Linked DNA regions of Homo sapiens: region 2 is linked to region 1. The links are contacts of gene promoters, found by promoter capture Hi-C in human tissues and cell types (Jung and others, 2019). All regions are on one chromosome and are shown on one strand. Each heading gives the region's core, a stretch centred on a gene start or on the middle of the fragment in contact. The rest is flanking DNA. Distances are from core to core; before and after follow the strand shown.

Region 1 (6,734 bases), core at 1,204-3,703:
AGGAAGAGAGGAGGCCTCAATTCTTCCGTTTTCCATTGTAGCAGCAACATGAAGCGAGCAGCCTCCTTGAACTATCTGAACCAACCTAGTGCAGCACCCCTCCAGGTGAGAGCAGTGCTTGTGAGCATATTGGTGGGTGAGGAAAAAAGGACAGCCAGTGAGCAAGCCCAGTGGAGTAAGGGAAGAGGGAAGGGAGAGGAGTCATCTGGGATGAAGATGAGCCAGGGGATTGCAGTCATTAAGGAATCAGGCAGATAGCTTGTGGTGAGTGCTGACCACCAAGGGACAGTTTCAGGCCAGACATAGTAGCAAATAAGTTAATAAGGAGGGAAATAGGAATATTCTGTAAACTGGTACTTTGGAATTATGAATAATTTAAGAATTATTTGGAGATACGAATTATTTTTTCATCCTGCAGCCGCCTTAGTAGTAGATGAGAATGGAAAAAGAAAAGTATTAAATAATCCCCATCTGAGAAAACACTAGTGATATTTTAATGGCAAATGACTTCTTGTATCAACACACAAGTATATGCCAGTATTCATGTGGTTCTTCCAGGTAGCTTCTCCACCAGATTGTGGCCTTCTGGAAAACCCTAGCAGAGGCTAAACAAAGTCCCAGGTCCAGAGATAGACTGGTCCAGAGACAGATGTGATCCTAGGTCCAGAGATACACTGTGACCATGGGATGGATGGACTCTAGGAGCCAGTCTTTGGGAGGCCGAGGTCCCTGAGCTGATGGGGTAGTGTTGTCTGTTTCAGGTCTCCCGGGGCCTCAGTGCCAGCACCATGGACCTCTCTTCAAGCAGCTGACATTCAACCCGGCCCCCAGGTCTGCTGGGTCCCCCCACCCCCACAGCCCTCACAGCATTCCCCATTGCTCCTGGCTCTTCCCCACCCCTAGGTGGGACAGTGAAGGGGAGCAGTTTAACCAGAAGATTGCTGCTGCCCTTAGGGTCTCAGCTCCCTCCTCAGGAATCCCTCTTAGGAAGGACCCTCAGGACACCCTCTCTGCACCCTGTGGTCCTCTAGAGTAGCTAGCTCTGAGGCCCCAAGGTGGGTACAAAGCAGGTATGGCCCTCAGAGATGCAGCCTGCTGCTGGCTTTTCAGTCAGAGGGTTGGGGGCTGGCCAGCCAAGCTGCCTTGCCCTGGCCGCTCTTACTCCCTCCCTCTGCTGTCTCACTTCAGGTCCATGTATTTCACTTTTCTTAAATAAAAGAATCAGGTAACCTTTCTGTGACTTGAGTCCTGATTGAAGAGGGTATGAAGCAGGGCTTGTGTTGGGGCCCTTCACAGAAGGTGAGGGGCAGTGATGGATGGAGCAGCAGGAGGAGTGTTGATTCTTGGATCTCTCCTCTCTTCCTCCCGTTGTTTGTATCATCTCCAGCAGGGCCTGTAGGAAGGCATCTGGGGGATGGGGAAGAAGGAGGCTCACAACCCAAGGAGAAGGTGCTGTGGACTGGGTTGTCAGGGACATGTGGTGGCCATGTGGCAGGACCCTGGAGTCCTGGCGCCACTTCTCCTGGCTGTGAGGCCCTCTGTGGCTGCCATTCCTCCTCCCAGCTGCTTGGGGGAAGGGAGGTCTAAACAGGCCTGGGGGGCCCTCCGGAACCAGAGGGGAGACAAGGCACTATCCATCCCCTCTCAGCATATCTTGGAGGCCTGAGCAGCAGCTGGGGCCCATCTTCTAAAGCTTGACTCCTCCTGACCCGCCTCCTACACCCCTTGCTGCTTTCACAACAAAGAAAGAATGTGGGGGTGGTGGCGCTGGGGGTGGGGGTGCCTGGAACAAGGGTTGTGCTGGGCCTCCCCACAGCTGGAGACTTGGCCATACCCTGACACAGCCCAGACTGCCTGGAGATGGACTTGGGATGAATTTGTCAGTTAGCAGACTTCAGCCTGGCTTTCAGAGCCCAGCGTGTTTCTACCTTTGGGTTCAGATTGGTCTACAGCCAAACCAGACCCCAGTCATGCACACTTCAGCCCCTCTCCGGGCTACACAGCATCTTCAGGTTACTTGGGGACATTAAGGACACCCTGCTGTTCTGGGTCTGCCGTTAAGATTTTGGGTTGCTGAAGAGTTGGCGGGGCCCGCCTCTTCCCCTGCCCCCACCTGGAGAATTCTGGGGGAACTGTTGGCCAGAGCCTCCAGGTATGCCCAGAATGGACCATTCTCCCCAGGGTCCACGGAATCGCACAAGTCACTTAGGTTCTCCCGGATCCCTGCAGAGTCGGTGGTGGGTACAGCAAATACTCAGGTCCCCTGCACTTCCCTGAGCCTTGCTCTCTCTATTCTCCATCCCTCTCCAGACCCCTCCCCCTACTGAGCTCCTCCCCGCCTCGGCGAGGAGGGGGCGTCGAGGGGGCGGGGCGCCGTGCGGGGGCCGGAGGGGAGGGGGCGTCGTGGGGCGGGGCTTGGCGGCGGCGGCGGCGGCGCGCGGGGACTCGGAGGTACTGGGCGCGCGCGGCTCCGGCTCGGGACGCCTCGGGACGCCTCGGGGTCGGGCTCCGGCTGCGGCTGCTGCTGCGGCGCCCGCGCTCCGGTGCGCTCCGCCTCCTGTGCCCGCCGCGGAGCGCAGTCTGCGCGCCCGCCGTGCGCCCTCAGCTCCTTTTCCTGAGCCCGCCGCGATGGGAGCTGCGCGGGGATCCCCGGCCAGACCCCGCCGGTTGCCTCTGCTCAGCGTCCTGCTGCTGCCGCTGCTGGGCGGTGAGTACCCGAGAGTTGGGGGCACAGAGCTTGGGAAGCGCGGGAGTCCCGTGGGCAAAAGGCTGCGCCCGGGGCGGTGGGTTTGGGCGGCTGGAACGGCCCTGGAGTAGTGGAGAGGCTCGCTGGGGGTGCAGGCTTGCGGCGGAAGGGCGCAAGGAGCCCGGGTGTCGGGAGGCTGGCGAAGCCTCCAGGGACGCGGTCAGGGTACCCCTCCCACTCGCGCCGCGGGGACGCATTTCCAGCCTCCCTGAGTTTTTCTGGTCTGAGCCGAGAGTTTGCTCGAGAACTGCCGAGAGTTGCTGGCTCTCGGGCCCAGATGGGGAGTTTCTTGTCGGGGGAGAAAAGACCATCCGCACCCACCGTGGGGAGCGCGATGGAGAAAAAGGAATTCCCCACCCCACCCGGCAGGGTCGGCCCAGGTAAGAGTTGCTGGTTTGGGGCCCGATGCCGGACAGACCTGCGGCGCGCAAAGCGCGGAGCTTTGTTACCTACGCCGACCCGACGTTCCCGGCTTCCCTCCTCCGAGTTCCTGGGCAAAGCTGAGACCCCAGATGGCCCTGCGGGTGAGGGCGGAAGAAGGGAAGAGTTAGGGGCCGCCCCCATCCATGGCCTCTAGCTACTGGTCTGGAACCCTGCGCCCACTCCGTGCCAGGGCCGAATCCGGGGATCCGAGGGTCCCAGGCTGTCGCGGTGACTAATGTGTGAAGGCCGCTGCCAAAATCGGGCATGGCCTGGCTGCAAAGGTGCGGACGGGGTTTGTTCTGCTCCTTCCTGGATTTCCATCCTGACTGTCCTCACAGAGGAAAGGAAGTATTTCTAAGGGAAGAAAGGCAAAAAGAGCTCATTCTGGCTTTTCTTGGGGGGGGGCCTTAGCATTTTAACGAGGGTGTGGCCCTCATCACCAGGGCAGACAGCACCGCCCCCCCAACTCCCGCAGCTTTTATTTCCTGGCTTGGTCACACCTAAGAGTCATCACTGAGGTGTTGAAGTGCCTTACAGGAAAGCACCAAGCCACCCGCACATCCCAAATAGCCCGGACTGGAAATAAAGCCCCCGACCCTCCACAACACTCCTTGGTGGTCCTCGAAGCAGCTTTCTCTTGGGGAGCTCTGTCGAGGAGACCTGTCCTAGGTGATCACCTTCCATCTCCTTTGAAGGTGGCAATGGGAAGGGCATGGGTAAGGAATTGCCTTTCTAATATCTTTCTGGCCTGCCAGCTGTGGAGGGGTTTTGGTGCTGGTGGAATCAACATCTCCCCTGCCCCCAGTTGTAAAAGGAGAGGTAAATGTAACCCAGGAAAGAGACCAATCTCCAGGGATTTGGAGGAGGTGTTTCTGGAGTTGCCCCGTTTTTCTTGTGATGTGTGTGGTGGTTATTGCTCGTGGCAGAATCCACATCTGCTCCCAGAGGAAGTATGGAAGTTTTTTTGCACAGCCAGGATGGGGGCCCAGCCATCTGGGCGAGCAGCCCAAGCTCACAGGCCCCCTGGCTGTCCTGGTTGGGTTTTGGTGTGTGGGTCTGCCCAATGAGGCTGCCTTCACTGCTGCTGTTCAGGGTACTAGAGTCAAGGGGAGTTTCTGGTGAAGATGGGGCTCTTGCTCAACAAATGCTGAATTCCTAAATTCCTTCCATGAGAAGATGACTCTGATGTTAATTGACTTAATCTGGTGACTGGTTGGTGTTTAGTGTGTGTGCGCGCGTGTGTGTGGGGGATCCTGTTGGGGGAAGTTAGGGCAGGCTGAGGGCTTAGGACAGGAGGTCTGTAGTCTCCTCAGGGGTGGGGGGATGTCTTGTGCTCAACAAAGGAACATTTTAATGAGAGCCTTAAATCAATTCCACCAAATGTGCCTTGTTGTGGAACCTGTCCATGTGCTGTAAACAATTTCAGTGGAGGCCGAGGCGCCTGCTGTCTTCTAGTGAAATCCTGGGACTCAACCCACCCCCAGACGCATGACTTCAGGGGCAACGGTTTTTTAATAGATCACAGTAGATGTTTGCATCTCATTGTTTAATTGTGTAATTAACTGGAGTTGTAGTGAGATCCCACTGTTAATAAGGCTGGAGTAAGGAACCTAGGCTGGCTAGGTTTGTGGATTAGACCATTTTAAAGTCTGGGTAATTATGCCATAAATGGCAGAGTTACTTTCCAAACTTTGAGATGCTGTTGTAATAAATATGGTGGAGGAGGAGGAGGCTTGATGTTTGAAACTATGGATTCTTAACCCCAACCTCTTGTACAGTCAGCTGTGGTCACTTCTCATTCCAATTCCCATCCCCCTCCCTGGTTTCTTTCCTCCGGGCTCTTGTTTCTTTGGGGAAATTGAGTCGTCATGTTCTGGGATAGGCTGTCTGCAGATTCCTCAAGGCTCTGCAGCCTGTAATTCAGGCCTAGGAGTTGCTTTTATTAGTGATGGCTTTTCTCAGCTGTTGGGAAGTATGGTGGCAGGGCAAGGGTGCTCTTCTTGTCACTTGTCAAATGATATACTCAAACTCCTGGTGTTCAGAGCAGCATTGAGTGGTGGACAGAGCTCAAGCAATGGAGATAAAGTATGGTCCTTCCTTGGCATCTGCAGGGAATTGGAATAGGACTCCCTGAGAATAACAAAATCCAAGGGTGCGGCCAGGCCTGGTGGCTCACGCCTGTAATCCCAGCACTTTGGGAGGCCGAGGCGGGCGGATCATGAGGTCAGGAGATTGAGACCATCCTGGCTAACACGGTGAAACCCTGTCTCTACTAAAAATACAAAAAATTAGCCAGGCGTGGTGGCGGGTGCCCGTAGTCCCAGCTACTCGGGAGGCTGAGACAGGAGAATGGCCTGAACCCGGGAGGTGGAGCTTGCAGTGATCGTGCCACTGCACTCCAGCTTGGGCGAGATCGTGCCGAGATCGTGCCACTGCACTCCAGCTTGGGTGACAGAGCGAGACTCCGTCTCAAAAAAAAAAAAAAATCCAAGGGTGCTCAAGTCTCTTATATAAAATGGTGTCGTATTTACATATAACGTACACACAACTTCCCTGTATACTTTTGTTTTGTTTTGTTATGAGACAGGGTCTCCTCTATCACCCAGGCTAGAGTGCAGTGGCACAATCTTGGCTCACTGAAGCCTCAAATTCCTGGGCTCAAGCAGTCTTCCTGCCTCAGTGCTCTAAAGTATGAGGATTACAGGCATGATCCACTATGCCCAGCTTCTCCTGTATACTTTAAATCATCTCTAAGGGCCAGGTTTACGCCTGTTATCCCACCACTTTGGGAGGCAGAGGGAGGAGGATCGCTTGAGCCCAGGGGCTCAAGACCAGCCTTGGCAACACAATGAGACCTCCACCTGTACAAAAAAAAAAAAAAAATTGCCAGGCATGGTGGCACGTGCCTGTGGTCCCAGCTGCCCAGGAGACTGAGGTGGGAGTATTGCCTGAGCCCAGCAGGTTGAGGCTACAGTAAGCCATGATTGTGTCACTGCACTTCGGTCTGGGTGACAGAGTTCAAAAAAAAAAAAAAAAAAAAGGGCAGGATGCAGTGGCTCACGCCTGTAATCCCAGCACTTTGGGAGGCTGAGGTGGGCGGATCATGAGGTTAGGAGAGCGAGACCATCCTGGCTAACATGGTGAAACCCCATCTCTACTAAAAATACAAAAAATTAGCCAGGCGTGGTGGCAGGCGCCTGTAGTCCCAGCTACTTGGGAGGCTGAGGCAGGAGAATGGCGTGAACCCGGGAGGCAGAGCTTGCAGTGAGCCGAGATTGCACCACTGCACTCCAGCCTGGGTGTCAGAGCGAGACTCTGTCTCAAAAAAAACAAAAAAATCTGTAAATTACTTGTAATACCTATTACAATGGAAATGCTATGTAAATAACTGTTGTATTCTTTAATTTGTATTCTTTTTTATTGTTGTATTGTTTTTAATTTTTATCTTCCCCCAGTGTTTTTGATCCTCTGTTGAGGGATGTGGAGCCCAGGGATAAGGAGTATATCTGGCAAAGCAGCAACTCAGACTCATTGGCAGGCCCTGTGGCCCTGGATGAACCTCTTA
Region 2 (6,776 bases), core at 2,384-4,883, 120 kb after region 1:
GAGAATCAACCCTTTTACCAGGAGAGACATTCTCCACTCTGATTGTATAGTGTCTATTTTAATTTAATTTTTCTCTATAGTCCCAGCAAACAGGTTTGCACATTACAATTATTTTTCCTATAATGCCAACCACTGCCTGTGAGACAACCAAGAAGTCTTATCTAGAAGGGCTGGATGCTGGCTAAGGCCAGGAGACACAGGTTTTGGAGACTTGGTGTATAGGTGGTAATTGAAGCAATGTGAATGGACCTGGTTGCCTCAGTGTGGGTGAGTGCAGAGTCCAGAGAAAGGGGACAAGGAACCTTAGTTCCTTGGGGCAAAGGAACACCAGAGAGGTAGGAGAAAAGCCAGGAGGATGTGAAGTCATGGAACTCAAGGGAAGAGAGATTTTGCAAAGGAAGGAGTGCAAGTGAGATGGGAGACAACTGTAAGAAGCCCCTGAAGACAACTAGATGCTGCGAGGGGCACCATCCTGAAGGGAAGATACAGGAGGGGCGGCTGTCCCACTCTGGTAGCCTTGGTGCTGCGAGCCTGGAGGCCAAGAGGAGTGGAAGGCTGATTTTACCATCCAGTCTCAGAGTTTTTTGTTGTTGTTTAGTTTCTTTCCTTTTTTCTTTTCCTTCCTCCCTCCCTCCTTCCCTCTCTTTGTAGTATTTGATGTCCCATCACTACCTCTTCCATTTCTGTCTCCTACTCTACCTATCTGCAAACAGCTCAGCTGCCCCAAAGTTTGAGGTCTAGAATGAGGCCTACCTTTCCTCATGGTGACTCTGCCCCCTCCTCACTCTGCTTTCACATCCCCCTCACAGGCACTGAAGATGCTGGCCGTCGCCAGCTCCTCGGAGATCCCCACTTTTGTTACTGGCCGAGATTCTATCCACTCTTTGTTTGATGCTCAGATGACCAGAGAGATCTTCGCCAGCATCGACTCAGCCACACGCCCGGGCTCTGAGAGCCTGCTCCTCACTGTCCCTGCAGCCGTGATCCTGATGCTGAATACTGAGGGGTCAGGGCATTACCTTCCCAACTCCAGGCTCCTGCTTAGTCCCAAACCCTGCTACTCCTGTGCTCCAGGCTCATGTACTCCACAGAAATTCCCCTCACGCTGTCACCTCCGGATTAAGCATTGGTGGCGCTGCCAACTGTTGTTGGAGGAGAACCCAAGTGGATTGGGGATAGGGAGATTCCCAGAGAGGGCAGAGACACACTGACTTCCCTTTATGGGTTTGGGAGGAGTGGCCCAAGGTCAGGGGATCAGATGTCCTGGCTCAGAGGGCCCACTGGAGCCCTTTGCTCCCTAGCTGCCCGGCCTTCTATGCTTGCTTTGCTGCTTCCATTGCATTCATGGTCTCTCAGTTTCTTCCTGGTCACCTCCCTCCTCCCAGGTGCTCTTCTGCAGCGAGAAATGGCTTACTCCTGCTCAACCTACTTTTGTGCAACCACCACACTCTGGGAGACCAGATTATAACCCAAGAGCTGAGAGACACGTTGTTTAGGCACTCAGGGATAGCACCAAGAACAGAACCTATGCCTACCACACGCACCATCCTCATGATGCTTCTCAATCGCTACTCAGAGCCGCCGGGCAGCCCTGAGCGTGCAGGTACCATTGTGGAGGGGTGGTTTTGCAGAGGAATCACACAGTGCCAGCCAGGTTTACATATCAGCTCCTTACTGGAAAGATACAAGGAAACTTCAGGAAATGAGCAAGCATTGTGCTCAAGTTAGGTCTTAAGTAGAACTTCCCGACCAAGAAGAGGGAGACTGTGGAATATGTGCAAGGAAATTGCATTTTTTTTTTTTTGAGATGGAGTTTTGCTCTTGTTTCCCAGGCTAGAGTGCAGTGGCACGATCTCGACTCACTGTAACCTCTGCTTCCTGGGTTCAAGCAATTCTCATGCCTCAGCCTCCTGTGTAGCTGGGATTATAGGCACCTGCCACCACAGCGGGCTAATTTTTGTATTTTTAGTAGAGACAGGGTTTCACCATGTTGGCCAGGCTGATCTGGAACTCCTGACCTCAGGAGATCCACTGCCTCGGCCTCCCAAAGTGCTGGGATTGCAGGTGTGAGCCACTGCACCTGGCTGGAAATTGCCTTCTTGAATGGCTTTAAACATATGTGGATTCATATCCATCTGGGCTAGGTTTGGCCCAGTATTATTGGACAGTAGAAGACTCATTGAAATGACATCTAGGGAAGCCTTTCTCTTTTTTTGTTTTAAGCTTAACTGGTTTTTTTTTGGAGGTGGAGTCTCACTCTGTCGCCCAGGCTGGAATGCAGTTGCACGATCTCTGCTCACTGCAAGCTCCGCCTCCCGGGTTCAAGGAATTCTCCTGCCTCAGCCTCCTGAGTAGCTGGGATTACAGGTGCGCACCACCACACCCAGCTAATTTTTGTATATTTAGTAGAGACAGGGTTTCACCATGTTGGTCAGGCCGGTTTTGAACTCCTGACCTCGTGATCTGACCGCCTTGGCCTCCCAAAGTGCTGGGATTAGAGGCGTGAGCCACTGTGCCTGGCCTAAGCTTAACTTTCTCTTCACAGAATAGGGAGGCCTTCTTAAGAGAAATTATAATTTATGGTACAGAACACTTGTGCCTGGAAACATTAGATATTGATACTGGGGAAGAAACCCTTTGTGATTGAAAAACAAGTGAAAACCTAGAAGTGTGGAGGGATATTGAAATAGGAAATACGTGGCCAGGTGCAATAGCTCATGCCTTTAATCCCAGCACTTTGGGAGGCTGAGGCAGGCAGATCACTTGAGGTCAGCAGTTTGAGACCAGCCCGGCCAACATGGTGAAACCGCATCTTTACTAAAAATACAAAAATTAGCCGGGCACGGTGGTAGGTGCTTGTAATCCCAGCTACTTGGGAGGCTGAGGCAGGAGAATCACTTGAGCCCAGGAGTTGGAGGTCACAGTGAGCCAAGATCATGCCACTGCACTCCAGCCTGGGTGACAGCGCTCTGTGTATTCCTACAAAATAGGAAATATGTATGTATCTTTTAGTCTGTGTACCTAAAGCCACCATGCAGGTAGTACAGGGATATAATCATCATAGTTAATATTTACTATAACTAACATTTAATAATAGGACTATAAGAGATTTAAAATGTCTTGTGTTTAACTCGACAGTGTTTGCTATACTAGGTTTTTTTTTCAAATCTGATTAGGTTTGTATTTGGGGTCAGGAAAGAAAACCCCTCATAGTTTGGTTAAAAACTATAGACATCCTCAATATAGAAGGAAAATTTTGGGGTGATTTTCTGGACCTTCCCAGTTCTCAGTTTGACAAACTGGTAAGACTCTTCATCCACATTTTTCCCTCTGGTGTGTCTGGCTGCAGCACTAGAGACCCCCATCATCCAGGGTCAGGATGGGTCCCCTGAGCTACTGATTCGATCCCTGGTTGGGGGCCCATCTGCAGAACTACTCCTGGACTTGGAGCGTGTGCTGTGCCGTGAGGGCAGCCCCGGAGGTGCCGTGAGGCCCCTCCTCAAGCGCCTCCAGCAGGAGACCCAGCCTTTCCTCCTGTTGCTGCGGACTCTGGATGCTCCGGGGCCCAACAAGACTCTGCTGCTGTCTGTGCTGAGGTGAGGGGCCTGTTGAGGCACCATGCATTGGGACGAGGGAAACTGGCAGACTTCAGGGACTTCACTTGTTTCTTTTCTGTTTTCTTTTTTTTTTTTTTGAGTTGGAGTTTCACTCTTGTTGCCCAGGCTGGAGTGCAATGGCACGATCTCAGCTCACTGCAACCTCTACCTCCCAGGTTCAAGTGGTTCTCCTGCCTCAGCCTCCCGAGTAGCTGGGATTGCAGGCATGTGCCACCATGCCCAGCTAATTTTGTATTTTTAGTAGAGATGGGGTTTCTCCATTTTGGTCAGGCTGGTCTCGAACTCCCGACCTCAGGTGATCCGCCCACTTCGGCCTCCCAAAGTGCTGGGATTACAGGCATGAGCCACTGTGCCTGGCCTGACTTCACTCGTTTCTACCCCCTCACCAGGGTCATAACCCGACTGCTGGATTTCCCTGAGGCAATGGTCCTCCCCTGGCACGAGGTCTTGGAGCCCTGCCTCAACTGCCTGAGTGGCCCTAGCAGTGACTCCGAGGTACCAGAACCCTGGCAAGGAGAAGAGAGGGAAGGGCAGCATCTGGGGCACCAACTCCTTGTGAGGCTCTGGAGGGCACAGCAGAGCCTTTCTGAATGGATCTTGGGGCACTGGGATGGGTGTAGGAGGAGGAAGGGTAATGTAATCTAAGAATCTCCAGAACTGGAATCTTTGAAGTATAAACCTTTTAGATGATTTTAGATTTGGAGTTTAGATTCTGGACTAAGGAGAAGCCCACATTCACCAATCCAGACAGCTGTCCTCCCTTCCGGGTTTGTGCATTGGAGAGCAAGGCTCAGGCACCAGGGTTAACATAGCTTGGCCTGGGCAGGAAGCAGCCTGGAAAGCTGTGCCCAAGCTCTGTTCTGCCAACTCACTCTGGAGTCCCAGCACTCCTCTATTTTACTCCACCCTGAATTTGGTACTCTTGTTTCCCTGGGCGTTGGCATGTCTCCACAATCTCAGCCACGACACTTCCTTTACTGAACCCTCTCCTCAATCCTTACATGTCCTACCTCTTGTTTCCTGTAAATTAATCTATGTGGCTCTGGGCTCAGATTGTTCAGGAGCTGACCTGCTTCCTACATCGCCTGGCCTCGATGCATAAGGACTATGCTGTGGTGCTCTGCTGCCTGGGAGCAAAAGAGATCCTCTCCAAAGTCCTGGACAAGCACTCAGCTCAGCTGCTGCTGGGCTGTGAGCTTCGGGACCTGGTGACAGAGTGTGAGAAGTACGCACAGCTCTATAGCAACCTCACCTCCAGCATCCTGGCCGGCTGCATTCAGGTGAGGAGCGGCTGTGGGTATGCAGCTGAGAGAATGCAAGTCAGAAGCAGGAGAAGGGGATTCACTGTGTTCCTCTTTGGTATCCCTGTTTGGCACAGGTTGTAGCAAATCTGGGGCACTTGTTTCCTAACCTTGACTCCACATGGTTCTGTCAAAATGTGGGGAGAGAGGAGTTGAGTATACCGTTGACCCTTGACTTTTTCTCTCTACCTGTTTCTGGGCATTTCTCTGTGTTCCTCCCTCTCCTCTTCCTCATTCTCCCTGATGTTCCGGCTGCAGATGGTGCTGGGCCAGATCGAAGACCACAGACGAACCCACCAACCCATCAATATCCCCTTCTTTGATGTGTTCCTCAGGCATCTCTGCCAGGGTTAGTGCCCTCATCTGCTTTCTCCTGGCTCCCATCCAGTGTCTGTTCTCCCCTTCCCTTCCTGCTCCTTAGACCTTTTCCTTTTTCCTCTCAACTAACCTAGCTGTGACTGCCACCCCTTCCCACTTGCCCCCAGGCTCCAGTGTGGAAGTGAAGGAGGACAAGTGCTGGGAGAAGGTGGAGGTGTCCTCCAACCCGCACCGAGCCAGCAAGCTGACGGACCACAACCCCAAGACCTACTGGGAGTCCAACGGCAGCACCGGCTCCCACTACATCACCCTGCACATGCACCGTGGTGTTCTTGTTAGGTGTGAACACACATATATGAATGTTCTGCTGTGCCCCAGGATACTTCCCCAAAGCACCCAGATACACACAACCCCAGCTATAACCCCAATGCCTGAGGGACACACTCAAACCTATTTTGTGCAGTGAACACATAGACACATTGACCTGCCTTTGCTGAGTATAGACATCCCCTCACTCCCAGAGTCTGGTGATCTGTACTCCAACAGGTACAGATGGCACTGCCCTGTGCTTAGTGTTGAGGGAGATAAACAGCTCACTTATCCATTTCTCCTTTGGGCATTTGCTTAATGCCAGGCATTTGTGTCAGGCACTGTGCAAGGGTCTCGAAATAGAAGGACAATAAGATATGGTACCTACATTCCAGCTGGGGAGCTACACTAGAAAATCAAGTAAGAGCACAGAGTAAGAAAAAGCATTGTGGTCCACATGTGGACCTGAGACTGACAGGCATGAGAGCAGACTTCCTTCTGGAAGGAGGGGGTGACTGAGCTGGGTTTTGACATTGAAATTAGGTAGATAAAGAGGGGGCAATATTCTAGGCATAAGGACAGCATATGTGCAAAATGGAAGTAAGAAAGTATATTTGGAGGGACTTTAAGTCATCATATTTGGTTACAATTGAAAGCTGTGTATATCTTTATTTTTATTTTTTTATATTTTTTGAGATGGAGTCTCGCTCTGCCGCCCAGGCTGGAGTACAGTGGTGTGATCTCAGCTCACTGCAACTTCTGCCTCCCGGGTTCACCCCATTCTCCTGTCTCAGCCTCCCGAGTAGCTGGGACTACAGGCGCCTGCCACCACGCCTGGCTAATTTTTTGTATTTTTAGTAGAGACGGGGTTTCACCGTGTTAGTCAGGATGGTCTCGATCTCCTGACCTCGTGATCCGCCCGCCTTGGCCTCCCAAAGTGCTGGGATTACAGGCGTGAACCACTGCGCCCGGCCGAAAGCTGTGTATGTCTAAGTGGCGGAAGATACAGGCCAGAAAAGTAGGCAAAGGCAGATCACAAAATGTTTTGTGAGCTAAGCAGTTTGAACTTTATTCCAAAAGTTGGGAGAGCCATTGGAAGATTTTAAGAAGGGAGGAGAGAAAACTAGATTTTTTATTGAGAAAGCTCACTCTGGCAACTATGGGAGTTTGCGCTGGAGGTAGAAGAAGGAGGTGGAAGGTGTATGCAGTGCTCTAGTAGAGAAAGGATCCA

Evidence for each region. Contacts are between HindIII fragments. The study calls those that stand out against the background at their distance.
Region 2: a contact is called between a fragment that was not itself captured here and the fragment with the promoter of PTK7 in region 1, in 2 of the 25 tissues and cell types used here (adrenal gland and pancreas).

The regions. Positions count from the first base shown.
Region 1 is chr6:43,073,861-43,080,594 of GRCh38, forward strand. PTK7 (protein tyrosine kinase 7 (inactive)) reads left to right here and starts at 2,454. Exons shown (of 20, transcript NM_002821.5): 1 at 2,454-2,707. The coding sequence starts at 2,629. KLC4 (kinesin light chain 4) reads left to right here. Exons shown (of 16, transcript NM_201521.3): 15 at 42-105; 16 at 762-1,233. The coding sequence ends at 812. It overlaps KLC4-AS1 (KLC4 antisense RNA 1), which reads right to left and starts at 2,370. Exons shown (of 2, transcript XR_002956347.1): 1 at 1,835-2,370; 2 at 473-1,407. RefSeq lists an enhancer at 1,589-2,112 and a silencer at 2,442-2,541. The HindIII fragment of the contact is 20,814 bases long and covers 1-6,734 here.
Region 2 is chr6:43,195,260-43,202,035 of GRCh38, forward strand. It overlaps CUL9 (cullin 9), which reads left to right. Exons shown (of 41, transcript NM_015089.4): 10 at 810-1,006; 11 at 1,386-1,603; 12 at 3,350-3,596; 13 at 4,007-4,112; 14 at 4,670-4,897; 15 at 5,177-5,267; 16 at 5,404-5,575. Among named protein-coding and RNA genes, the nearest start is that of CUL9, 16 kb to the left of the region's middle. RefSeq lists a silencer at 5,738-5,938. The HindIII fragment of the contact is 5,147 bases long and covers 1,061-6,207 here.